Linked DNA regions of Homo sapiens: regions 1, 2 and 3 are each linked to region 4. Evidence: promoter capture Hi-C in 16 types of primary human blood cells and fetal thymus (Javierre and others, 2016). All regions are on one chromosome and are shown on one strand. Each heading gives the region's core, a stretch centred on a gene start or on the middle of the fragment in contact. The rest is flanking DNA. Distances are from core to core; before and after follow the strand shown. Region 1 overlaps LOC124903162. Region 2 overlaps LOC124903162. Region 3 has its middle 140 kb from the start of LINC00332. Region 4 holds the start of FOXO1 (forkhead box O1).

Region 1 (2,700 bases), core at 89-2,588, 580 kb before region 4:
TGTTTATAGCTGTATTTATAATCACCAAAAAATGGAAACAAATTCAATCTCATTTGACTGTTGAATGGTTACCCAAACTGTGGTACATCCATGCAAGGGAATATTACTCCGCAATAAAAAGGAACAAACCATTGTAACAGGTAACAACGTGGGTGAATCTCAAATGCATTATGCAGAGTGAAAGAAATCAGACTTAAAAGGCTACATACTAAATGATTACATTTGCAGAACATTCTGGAAAAGGCAAAACTATAGGGACAGAAAATCCATCAGTGGTTGCCAGGGTCTGGAGAAAGAAGAGTCTGACAACAAAAGGGCACAAGGTAATTTTGGGTGGCAAATGACTGTTCCATATGTTGATCATGGGGGTGGTCACATATGAATATGTGTTTCTCAAAAATCCTAGACCTGTACACTAAAAAGAGCAAATTTTAGCACACTTAAGTTATACCTCAAGAAACTGATTAAACATAATAATGAGATAAATTTCTTTTTGTAAAAAGAAGAAAAAATACAAATGGCTAAGTGAGATTATACTATTCTTGGCAGAGCGCAGTGGCTCACGCCTGTAATCCCAGCACTTTGGGAGGCTGAGGAGGGCGAATCACGATGTCAGGAGATCAAGACGATCCTGACTAACACGGTGAAACCCCGTCTCTACTAAAAATACAAAAAAATTAGCCAGGCGTGGTGGCAGGCACCTGTAGTCCCAGCTACTCGGGAGGCTGAGGCAGGAGAATGGCGCTAACCCAGGAGGCGGAGCTTGCAGTGAGCCAAGATTGCGCCACTGCACTCCAACCTGGGCAACAGAGCAAGACTCCGTCTCAAAAAAAAAAAAAGATAAATTTCTTTTTGTAAAAAGAAGAAAAAATGCAAATGGCTAAGTGAGATTATACTATTCTTAACCCCTAAAAGTGTTCAGGTAGGTGTTTTTAGTTGAGAATGATTAAGTTGATAGCTAAGTGTGGGTTAGGATTGGGCAACATCTGCCCAGCAGGGCCAGCTGATTGTTGTTCTGAGAGACCACAGAGACCCTCGTGGGAACAGCATTTCTAACTTGATTTCTAGAATTTGTTGATGGCATAGTTTGGGATGGCAAAGGATGGGTAGGGTAAAAGCCAGAATTGGTGCTTATGGGCACAAGTCCCTAGTGGTTCTCCTCCAGGGCAAAGGGCAGATGTCTGAATGACCTGTGGCCAGAAATATGAGGTGATGCACACGCAGTTTCCAAGTGCTCCACACAGCATCATGCTGAATGCTCCTAAGAACTTTTCACGCCAGGAGCCACCATTCCTGTTGTGTAGGTGACTGAACTGAGGTGGAGGGGAGGTGACTTAGCCAGATCACAGTGAGGAAATGGACTGGAGGCTGGGCCACAGGGCTCCTGAGTTCACGCTTGTTTGCTTGTTTGTTTGTTGATGCTGGTGGTGGTGATGGTGGTGGTGTTCAAATGACATCAAAGCTCTTCATCCTTGATGTGAGTCCATCATCAAAATTTTGAAAAACACCAGACAGAAAAAGATTTTCTCTCCCTGCAAACATAAACACAGGAGTGATTTATAAAAAAATAAAATAAAAGACAAAACAAAGGTCAGAATTTTGTCCAGAATAGTCAGGCTATGGTGACATGAAACCAAGCAGCTGACTTACTAATACAATGGTGTATTTCAGAGGAGCATTTGGGTATGTTGACTACACAACTGAAAACACCTGGATATTTTGTTTTGAGATTAACTGCATGATATCGTCCATGTTGGTCAGGTATCCAGGAATGATTGATTGACACCCTCCCAAGTGAAGACACGGGGCAGTTGAGCACTCCCTGGGCAATTCAGCATCTCACAGAGTTCTGTTGTTATATCTGAAATCACTAGACTCTCCCACACAAAAGAATGGGCAATAAATCAAACCTTTCATACGTCTTCCTGGTACTGAAAAGCCCACTGCTATACTGCACAAGAAACATAGATTGTGGAATGTTTTTCGGTTGGCATAGGAACAGCCTTGGAAATGTTCAGACCAGAAGGGTCAGAATGTTAGGAAGTTTGCAGCAGGAAAAATTCCTGCTGTGACCATGATAAGTTAAATATCCTGACTAGACTCTCTCTTCTCTTTCTGGCACATGGCCTAGCCGAAAGAGCGCCTCGTGTGGTTCTGTAATAGTCACACAAAACAAAATGGACCGCATCCTCCCAAGGCACCCTTGCCCGCAGACCTTTCGAGGCCCTGAAGTGCCTGTATGGGAAACTGAGGCCCAGAAATATGGAGTGCAGGGTTAGTGAGCCTAGAGAGAACATGGAAGTGGGGATGGGACAAGTGCTGTGTGTGCACCATGACATATCACACTGAGTTCCCCTTCTCAGGCCCTGTGTCCGAAAGAGAGCAAGGAGTTTAGAGCTGGCTGAATCCCAACTTGCTGCTACTCCCTGCACTCTGATGATGACAGTGACCCTACCCTGGCACAAACCTCAAGTTTCCTTAGAACCCACTGGCAAGTGGCTCACCTCTTTAGGATGAAGTGAAGAGTATTTCAAATGTCTCTCTTCTCTTTCTCCCTGGAGGTCTGGGAGGGCGTAGGTGGGAAGGTAGGGGAGAGATGGGATAGAGAGGGGCACCAGTGAGGCAGCACAACAGTGGATGAAAGAGAATAAGCAAAAGCCCTCAAGCCCCAGTGTCTTAGAGGACTCTAAACACAGTAAT
Region 2 (2,700 bases), core at 5-2,504, 520 kb before region 4:
GGGAAGCTTGGCCAGTTCTTGAAAAGGCCCAGGGCTCTGTGAAAAGACCACAGCCTCTGCTTCTGAACTGGGACCACACAGGTTTGCCTGGGGGTCTCCAGTATGGTGCTGACCATGTAGCCACAGACGACTTCAAGCTACTCCATGATGAAACCCCAGGCTCTGCCTGTTCAGAGTGGGATGAATGAGGAGCAAATTCGCGGGAGCAGGAGGAGCTGTCAGGAGTCAGAGTATGCCGTCATCATCACACACCTCCCTGGCTTCAACAATGCTATTAAAACTCACACATTTCCCCTGTCTGTGTGTATGCGTTGCAATGTAAGTCAAGCAGCAAGATTTTATCTCTGTATCAAGATAATTTATTAACAAGGACGGTGCTGGAACCCTGGCATGATACTTTGAAATGCCAGCTGTGGCTGCGGGCCAATTTAACCACAGTCTGGAAGCTCGATTTAAAGAAATCCATCTATGGCTTATATAGGTAAGTTTATATTATTCTCCTTCTGCATCATAGCCCTTAGGACAAAGTGCATGTGAAGAGAGCTGGTGAAGGGCAGACTGCTACAAACTAGTTGTCGAGTGGTTCAGGAAGGAGACCAGAACTCAAAAACAAATCCCAGGGAATGATTTCTAGTTAGTCATCCTTTGCGGACTGACTTTAGAAATTATGCAAGGGGTGGAAGACGAAGCCTGAGGGTGTTACAAGATGTGGTCCCTGCCTCACTTCATCTTGCCTCCCCTTGCTTCCTCTTGTGCACCCAAAACACTGGCCTTCTGCCTGTGCCTTCAGCTCCCCAGCTCTTCCCTACCTCAGGACCTTTGCACTTGCCAGTCCCTGCTGGAATGTTCTTTCCTCACCTCGGCTTAACTGTCACCTCCTCAGAAATACTTTCCTTGACTACATTATATAAAGTAAACTTTATGCCCTAGTTTCTCTCTCTCTCTCTCTCTCATCCTCTTGTTTCATTCCTTCACAGCACTCCTCTAATTTGAAATTAGGTTGTTTATTTATTTGTTTATTATCTCTCCTGACTAGAATGTAAATGCCGTAAAAGAAGAAATCCGGTTTTACATCCCAGTGCCTTATACATAGAAAGCACTCAATAAACATTGAATGAATGAATGATATTAGCATAATCATTTAAGATTCTTAATGAGAGGAGAAAAAAAACTTTTCTTGATTTCCAAGTAGGGAGAGATGAGGAAATAAAGCAGAAAATGGAAGAATTGTTCACTGCCAATTAGCTTGAGATTGAAACAACCAGAAAAGCAAAAATCTGAATGCGTCATTATAAAATGCAAACAAAGGCAGTTTGCAAATAGGCATGGGATGATGTCCTCATGAAGCAGATGGATTATAAAGTACCGAGGATGACTACCTCCTACCCCTCAAGACCTGTGCCCAGCTCCTGCATATAAGGACAGCATGACTTTTCAGCCCTTCCTAAGAACCCTTCAGCCAGAAACACTTCAAATGAGAGTACAAGAGTCTCGCTGACACCAAGCGCCAGCAAGTCCTTGTCATGTACAGCATCTGGGCAGAAGTAAGAACATCTGTTCCCAGCATGAACCTTATTAGCTTCATCATTTGGCTTTCAACCAAAAAAATGTACAATTATGATACATGGGCTTAATGGGTGGCAAGGTAGCAACTAATGCTCTGCAGCAGATGAGCTCAGGAGCAGGCGTGGCTATGGGGGTAGCGGCCATGCAGCGGGGGCAAGACACACCTAGCAGCAACAGCTCCATTACCTGGAGGCAACCTTGCAGCAACCGCAGGTTCTAGAGACAGAGGACAACTGGGGACTGGAAAGAAGAGAGAGTGAGAAAAAGGAGGGAGAACGGAAGAGGAGGAGAGAGGAGAGAAGGGGAGAAAGTGAATGAGAGGCATGAGAGTGAAGCCATAAAGACCCCACCCAGACATAAAAGTGAGGGTGAGGGAGCGGGGCAGACAAAGTAGCTCTGCCTGGCACATGGTAGAGCAGGATGTCCCACACACTAAAGCAGGGCCGCCTGGGTCTGCACCTCATCTCCACCACTTCCCTGATGTGTGCACTCAGGCAAGCTGCCTCGTCGCTTTGTGCCTTAGTTCTCTCAACCCCTGAGAGGGGAAAATCACAGCACCTACCTCAGAGGGTTGATGTGAGGGGTAAGTGTGTTACTCTGCATAAGGCACTTGAGCAGTACTTGACATGGAGCAAGCTGCCATCATCGCATCATCATCATCATCATCATCACTACTACTACTATCATCATTACTTGTAAGACTGATTTAAATACTCCTTATATACTTGCATATACTCCTTACAGCATGATGAGCTAGGTACCAGTATTATCCCCACATCGCGCAGCAAGCGTGTGGAAGTGAAAAGCTGGGCCTTAGCAATCTGCCTCTGGAGCCCGTGCTCCTTACCATCTCCCAGGCAGGACTCAACAGCCTCCCTAAGAATTGCCCTTGAGCTTGTCACTGCCATAATAAAAACAACAGAAGCAGCACAGACTAAAGCTTATGTCTGGGTTTGTTACATGGAAGGCCAAGAGCAATCTCCTTCCCTGGGCCTCCTTATTACAGGTAGCACTCCCTGCACCTAAGGAAGCAGGATTGAAATTAAGGAGACGTGGGTTTGAATCCCAGCTCCACACTCAAGAGCAGTGGGCATGCCTGCGGAGGTAAATGGCTGCCTCCTGCGCCTGCTGCTC
Region 3 (2,700 bases), core at 107-2,606, 620 kb before region 4:
CACCAAGCACTGATCCAAGATCTGCTTCAAATAGCGTATATTCTTTCCTAAAAGATCTTTTCTTCTCCTCTTCAGGAATGATTAGGAGAAGCACGTGCAGTAAGCCTGACTGCAAGGCTGTTAATGCTGAAAAGAAAGGTATTGGCTAGCCCAGATTACTGGAGAGGAGAGAAAAGGCTAAGTGATTTTGAAACCATTTTTAAGAGTGGAGTGGTGTAACTTAAGCCGCACTGGAATGCTGAGGGATAGGGTTCTTCAGACTTTCTCATGAAGGAGATAAAGCACCAAAAGAACTGGAGTTGGAGCTCCAAACATTTGGCAAAGACCCAAATCTTTTCAGTGGTAATGGTGTGATATTTAAATTGTTCAAGAATACTCTTGGGCATGCTTGATGATCCATGAACATGTAACATCAACTTGGATTTAACTCTTGTTAAACTGGGTCCTTCTAAAGATCATGAGAAACTAACTGTCCTTTTCTCAGGACTCGATGCTGTTAGTTGGCTAATCATCAGTAGGAACTGCACTCTAAATTTCTTCTCCAGTAGTAGTGACAAATTTGTCACAAATGGTTTTCTCTCTCTTGTTTCTCCCACTTATCACCAATGGCTTGTGTTTGCAAAAGACAGCTATGCACTTTGAAGTTAGACCTTACAAAATGTGTGACCTTCAACAAGGTGACTTAACTTCCCCAAGTTGCAGCTTCCTCCTCTGTAACCTAAGAGTAATCAGTGTGCACCTTAGAGATTTCTTCTCAATGTTATACAAGAAGATGCAGTGTAAAGGATTTAGCCCAGTTCTGGCATGCAGTAATTTAACACAAATAACAGTAACTAATATTTATTAAGTGCTTATTATTTGCCAGGCAAAGTTCTAAACACCTTATACATATTAACTCACTTAATAATATTATTAACCCCATTTTTCAGATGTGAAAGTGGAGCTACCTACTTATTGAAAGTTTAAAAAATGAATAAATAATGCTACTTTCTTACTTTCCCAAGCTGGAATAGAATTGAGAGATAGACATTGGAATAAGCCAGATGAATCTCAAAATATTGCTTTTATTATTGATGAAGGCAATCAAAGGAAATACCTCAGATCTTTACCCTTGCTAATATTTTGTCCAAAAAGACAACATGTCCTCCCACTTACAGATATCACTGAACAATTGCAGGTTTTCTCAGGAAGAGCAAGCAAATTATTACGTGCAGAGAGCCCAGAAAGCTCCTCTTTGCTGGAAGTCAGACCTGAAAACAGGAAAGAGATGACCGAACTGAGCATGCCCAGTTCTTTCTCCCAACTCCTCCGTCAGGTAATACTTTCTGCAGTCAGGACAAATAAATAAGGGATGGGGAGAGAACAAGACGTTAGGCTAACAAAAAAATCCCATGATCTAAAAAAATTGAAGCCAGGGTCTAAGAGGTTCTCCAAATGTCATCATCATCATTATCTGTATTAAGATTCCATTTCTTTATATCCAAATATTTAGGATGAACAAGTCTACAGAAACAATGTACAACATGAGAACTAAAGTTAACAAAATTGTATTGTATTAGACATTTTGGTTAAATCAGTAGATTTTTGCTGCTCCTGTCACACACACACAAAGTAACCATGTGAGATGATAGCTTTGTTAATTTGCTTCACTTTAGTAACAGTTTACTATTTATATGTATTAATATCCCATAGCATTGTTGTGAACCTCAAATACACACAATACTATCTATTTTTTTTAAGTTTCATTTCAAAAAAATAAATATTGGAACCTTCAGATTTTAGAAATTTCCATTTCTATCAGTATTGGGAAATTGTGTGTTTCTAAAAATTTGTCTGTTTCATATAAATTTTCACATTAATTAATAATTAGCATAAATATGTTTATATATCACCTTACTATCTTTTCAATGTTTGTAATTTCTGTGGCAAAGTTCCTTCATTCAGCCCTTGATAAGAATAATTTGCACCATGTCTTACTTCTTCTTAATCAGTTGTGCTAGGAATTTATATATTTTCTTCGTCTTAAAAAATTTAATATATTGGCTTTGTTGAATCTGTTGCACATTTGCTTTCTAGTTCATTGATTTTTGTTCTTATCTTTATTATTTCCTTCCTTCCATTTTATTTGGTTTTATTATATCTAACTCTCTGAGATAGATACTCAGATCACTAATTTTGATATTTCTTTTTCAACTACATATATTTGAAAGTCTAAGAATGACTTCAACTGCATACAAGTTTTGATATATATAATTCTCATTATGGTTCAGTTTAAAATATGTTCTAATTTTCATTTTCTAGTTCCACTTTTTTCATTTGCTTTATTTTGTATATTTCTACCCACATTTTAGTGTAGTCAGAGAACATGAAACCTCTGAATAACTTCAATCATTTGAATTTTTACAAGAAAGCTCTATAGCTCAGTATGTTGTCTACATTTTGGTAAATATTTCTTCAGATATTGGGTCAATTTGTTACTTAGTATGTGCAAATCTTCTATACTTTATTAACTTTTTGTCCGCTGGTTGACATTTGGTTCTCTGATTGTGGCTTTATCTACTTTCCCTTTTAATTCAGTGATTTTTTTCCTTATATATTTTGAGGCTATGTTTTTAGAAACATAAATCTAGAATTGTTATATATTCTTGGTGAGTTGCCCATTTTATCATGATAAAGTGTTTTTCTTCATGTCTAGTAATG
Region 4 (2,700 bases), core at 37-2,536:
GAGCCCCTTACCGCGTCCCACGCGAACTCCTGACTGGCGCGCACGCACACCTACTGCCGTCCCCGACCGGACCCGGGCGAGGCCACCGCGACCACCGCTTCTCGCCCGCCCTCCTGGGAACGCGCTGCCCTCCTGCTCCGCACCTTCAGGCCGAGCAAACCTGCACAGCTGCGCCCTCGCCTGACCCACCGCGCCCCCAAGGTCCGGCCGCGCGCCGAGTCCACTCACCTTCCAGCCCGCCGAGCTGTTGCTGTCACCCTTATCCTTGAAGTAGGGCACGCTCTTGACCATCCACTCGTAGATCTGCGACAGCGTGAGCCGCTTCTCCGCCGAGCTCTCGATGGCCTTGGTGATGAGGTCGGCGTAGGACAGGTTGCCCCACGCGTTGCGGCGGGACGAGCTGCTCTTGCGCGGCTGCCCCGCGAGCGGCCCAGCGGCGGCGGGGGGCACCGGCGGGTGCTGCGACAGCGGCCCGGGCGGCGGGGGCTGCGGTGGCGCTGGGTGCAGGCAGCCCGCCTCCGGGCCCTGGAAGTCCCCGCACAGCCCCCCGGTGGCGGCCGCGGCGGCCGCCGCCGCCACCGCCGCCGCCACGGAGCCGGGCGCCTGCGGGAAGTCCTCGCTCTCCTCCAGCAAGCTCAGGTTGCTCATGAAGTCGGCGCTGACAGCGGCAGCCGAGGCCGAGGGCAGGCCCGCCGCGGCGTCGGGGTTGGCAGCCGCGCTGCCCGACGGCGCCGGGCTGGAGGTGGCCGAGTTGGACTGGCTAAACTCCGGCCTGGGCAGCGGCCAGGTGCACGAGCGCGGCCGGGGCAGCGGCTCGAAGTCCGGGTCGATCTCCACCACCTGAGGCGCCTCGGCCATGGTGACCCCCGCCCCTCCCCCAGCCGCAGGAGAGCCAAGAGGGGGAGAACGCAGCACTGGGGGCGGACGGGGAGGGGGCGCGAAGGGACGGTCCGAGATTTGGGGGAACGAAGCCGGTGCGGCGAGCGGACGGAAACTGGGAGGAAGGCGCGGCGGAGTGGAAGCGCGAGCCCAGAACTTAACTTCGCGGGGCCATCCACATCGAGGCTCCTCGGGGTCCGCCGCACGGACTGGACGGCCGGCCAGAGCCGCCGGGCCGGGGCAGAGCCTGCGCCGCGCTCCAGCTGACAGGGCCGCGGACGGAAGGACGGACGGACGCCGCGGGCCGCTTGCTCTCCCCAGCGGCGCGCCCGCTGCGCTGCTGCCTGTTGAATGTGGCGGCTGCGGCAGCGGCTGCTGCGACTACCAGGCCGCCCGACTTACGGGATCTGCCGCCGCCCCCCGCCCGCGGCGGCGCGCGCGCCGGCCCGCCCCTGACCGACAGCCCGCGCGGCCAATGGGCATGCGGCACCGCCGCCCGGGCAGCCAGTGGGCGCCGGGCTGGGTGGGGCCCGGTTTTCCACGGGGAGGCGGCGGTGGGCTGGTGGGGGGTAGTGGGGTGTTTTTCTCTTTCACACACTCACCTCCTTTTTTTTTTTTTGGATCTCTATTATTTTCTGGTAATTCTCGAGTGTTTCTGTGATTCTCTCGCCTTCTCAGTGTTTTGATTGCTAGGAAGCAAACCAGCGTGGAGGCGCCGGCGACACTTTGTTTACTACGGAGCAGCAGAGCCGAGTACTCGGGAAGCCCGGGTGGGAGGAGGCGCTCGCTGCTCCCTGACCTCCGCTGCGGGCCGAGCCCGGCGGGCTGGCAGGGCAGGGGGCCGAGGGCCGGGGGCGCGGGGTGGGCGGGCGGAGGCGGCCGCGAGGAATTCTACTCAATCGCTCCCTCCTGGCTCCACCCACGATGTCTTTGCTGAACGACGTGGGGAATCGGTGGGTTTTGTTTTGGTTTAATGTTTTCTTTCGCTGCGATCTGTCAAGTCCTCCGGCCCCCTCGCGAGCGGCACACGCCCCCCACCCCCGGCGCCGCGGCTCCTGCAGTCGAGTCCGCGCCGAGGGACCCTTCTCCGTGCCCACCGGTCCGCACCCCCGGGCTCAGCCTGTGCCATTCGGTCTAGCCAGAGGCGCGTCACCCAGCCGGCAGCCCCCAGCCGGATTCACTGTATTCTTGACCTTTTTTAAAATGCTAGAAATGAGGAACAGGGGCTCCGGCGCGGGGAGGAGATTATCTGGCCTCCCTGAACACACGAATCCAAAGGCACCCGCGACCGCATGCCCTCCGTGGGAACCTCTTCCCCTGGGCGGGAATCTCCCGCTCCGTCCACTAAGTCCAGGGCCGGCAGCGAAGGGCTCAGGAGCGCAGTTAGAGAGAACCAGGTCATTTTATTACTTATCCCTAATTAAATTTAGCTGTTTGTTACTTCTTTTTTATTTGCAACGGAAGTGATCGGGTGTTAAGTAAAAACGCAAGGGGGGCGGGAGATAGGACCAAAGCCTTGGGGCGCAGCCTGCCCCACCCCCAAATTCCTTGAGGCTACTTGCTGTGTGTGTCAGTCAACCCCCCACCCACACCCCACCTTTCCTCATCTGGGCTGCAGGTCCAGGACATCCTGTCAAGGATCAGTGGGGCCAAAGGTGGGAAGATAATGGCCCTTGTGTCTCAAGCAGAAGAAACAGTTTTCCAGTTTTGTTTTGTTATGCTTTTGCTTTTTTAGGAAGAATATGGAAGGCATTTCCTTTTAGAAAGATGGGACCACTTAGGATGGAAGATGGACAGTAGGGTTTTAAATATCTTGTCCAA

The links. The method cuts DNA at HindIII sites, captures the fragments that hold promoters and counts their contacts. A CHiCAGO score of 5 or more calls a contact.
Region 1: a fragment that was not itself captured here is called in contact with the fragment with the promoter of FOXO1 in region 4 in 17 of 17 cell types (naive B cells, activated CD4 T cells, monocytes and 14 more); the score reaches 12.8 in naive B cells.
Region 2: a fragment that was not itself captured here is called in contact with the fragment with the promoter of FOXO1 in region 4 in 2 of 17 cell types (M0 macrophages and activated CD4 T cells); the score reaches 6.8 in M0 macrophages.
Region 3: a contact is called between a fragment that was not itself captured here and the fragment with the promoter of FOXO1 in region 4, in 9 of 17 cell types (activated CD4 T cells, total CD4 T cells, M2 macrophages and 6 more). The highest score is 9.7, in activated CD4 T cells.

Annotation. Positions count from the first base shown.
Region 1 is chr13:40,080,785-40,083,484 of GRCh38, forward strand. It overlaps LOC124903162, which reads right to left. Exons shown (of 5, transcript XM_047430821.1): 5 at 1-1,532. The coding sequence ends at 1,467. Among named protein-coding and RNA genes, the nearest start is that of LINC00332, 100 kb to the right of the region's middle. The HindIII fragment of the contact is 3,641 bases long and covers 1-2,700 here.
Region 2 is chr13:40,141,734-40,144,433 of GRCh38, forward strand. All of the region lies in intron 1 of LOC124903162, which reads right to left. Among named protein-coding and RNA genes, the nearest start is that of LINC00332, 39 kb to the right of the region's middle. The HindIII fragment of the contact is 2,500 bases long and covers 5-2,504 here.
Region 3 is chr13:40,043,744-40,046,443 of GRCh38, forward strand. No RefSeq gene overlaps it. Among named protein-coding and RNA genes, the nearest start is that of LINC00332, 140 kb to the right of the region's middle. The HindIII fragment of the contact is 4,479 bases long and covers 1-2,700 here.
Region 4 is chr13:40,665,355-40,668,054 of GRCh38, forward strand. It overlaps FOXO1 (forkhead box O1), which reads right to left and starts at 1,287. Exons shown (of 3, transcript NM_002015.4): 1 at 229-1,287. The coding sequence starts at 858. RefSeq lists silencers at 436-485, 576-715, 946-1,475 and an enhancer at 2,126-2,175. The HindIII fragment of the contact is 11,472 bases long and covers 1-2,700 here.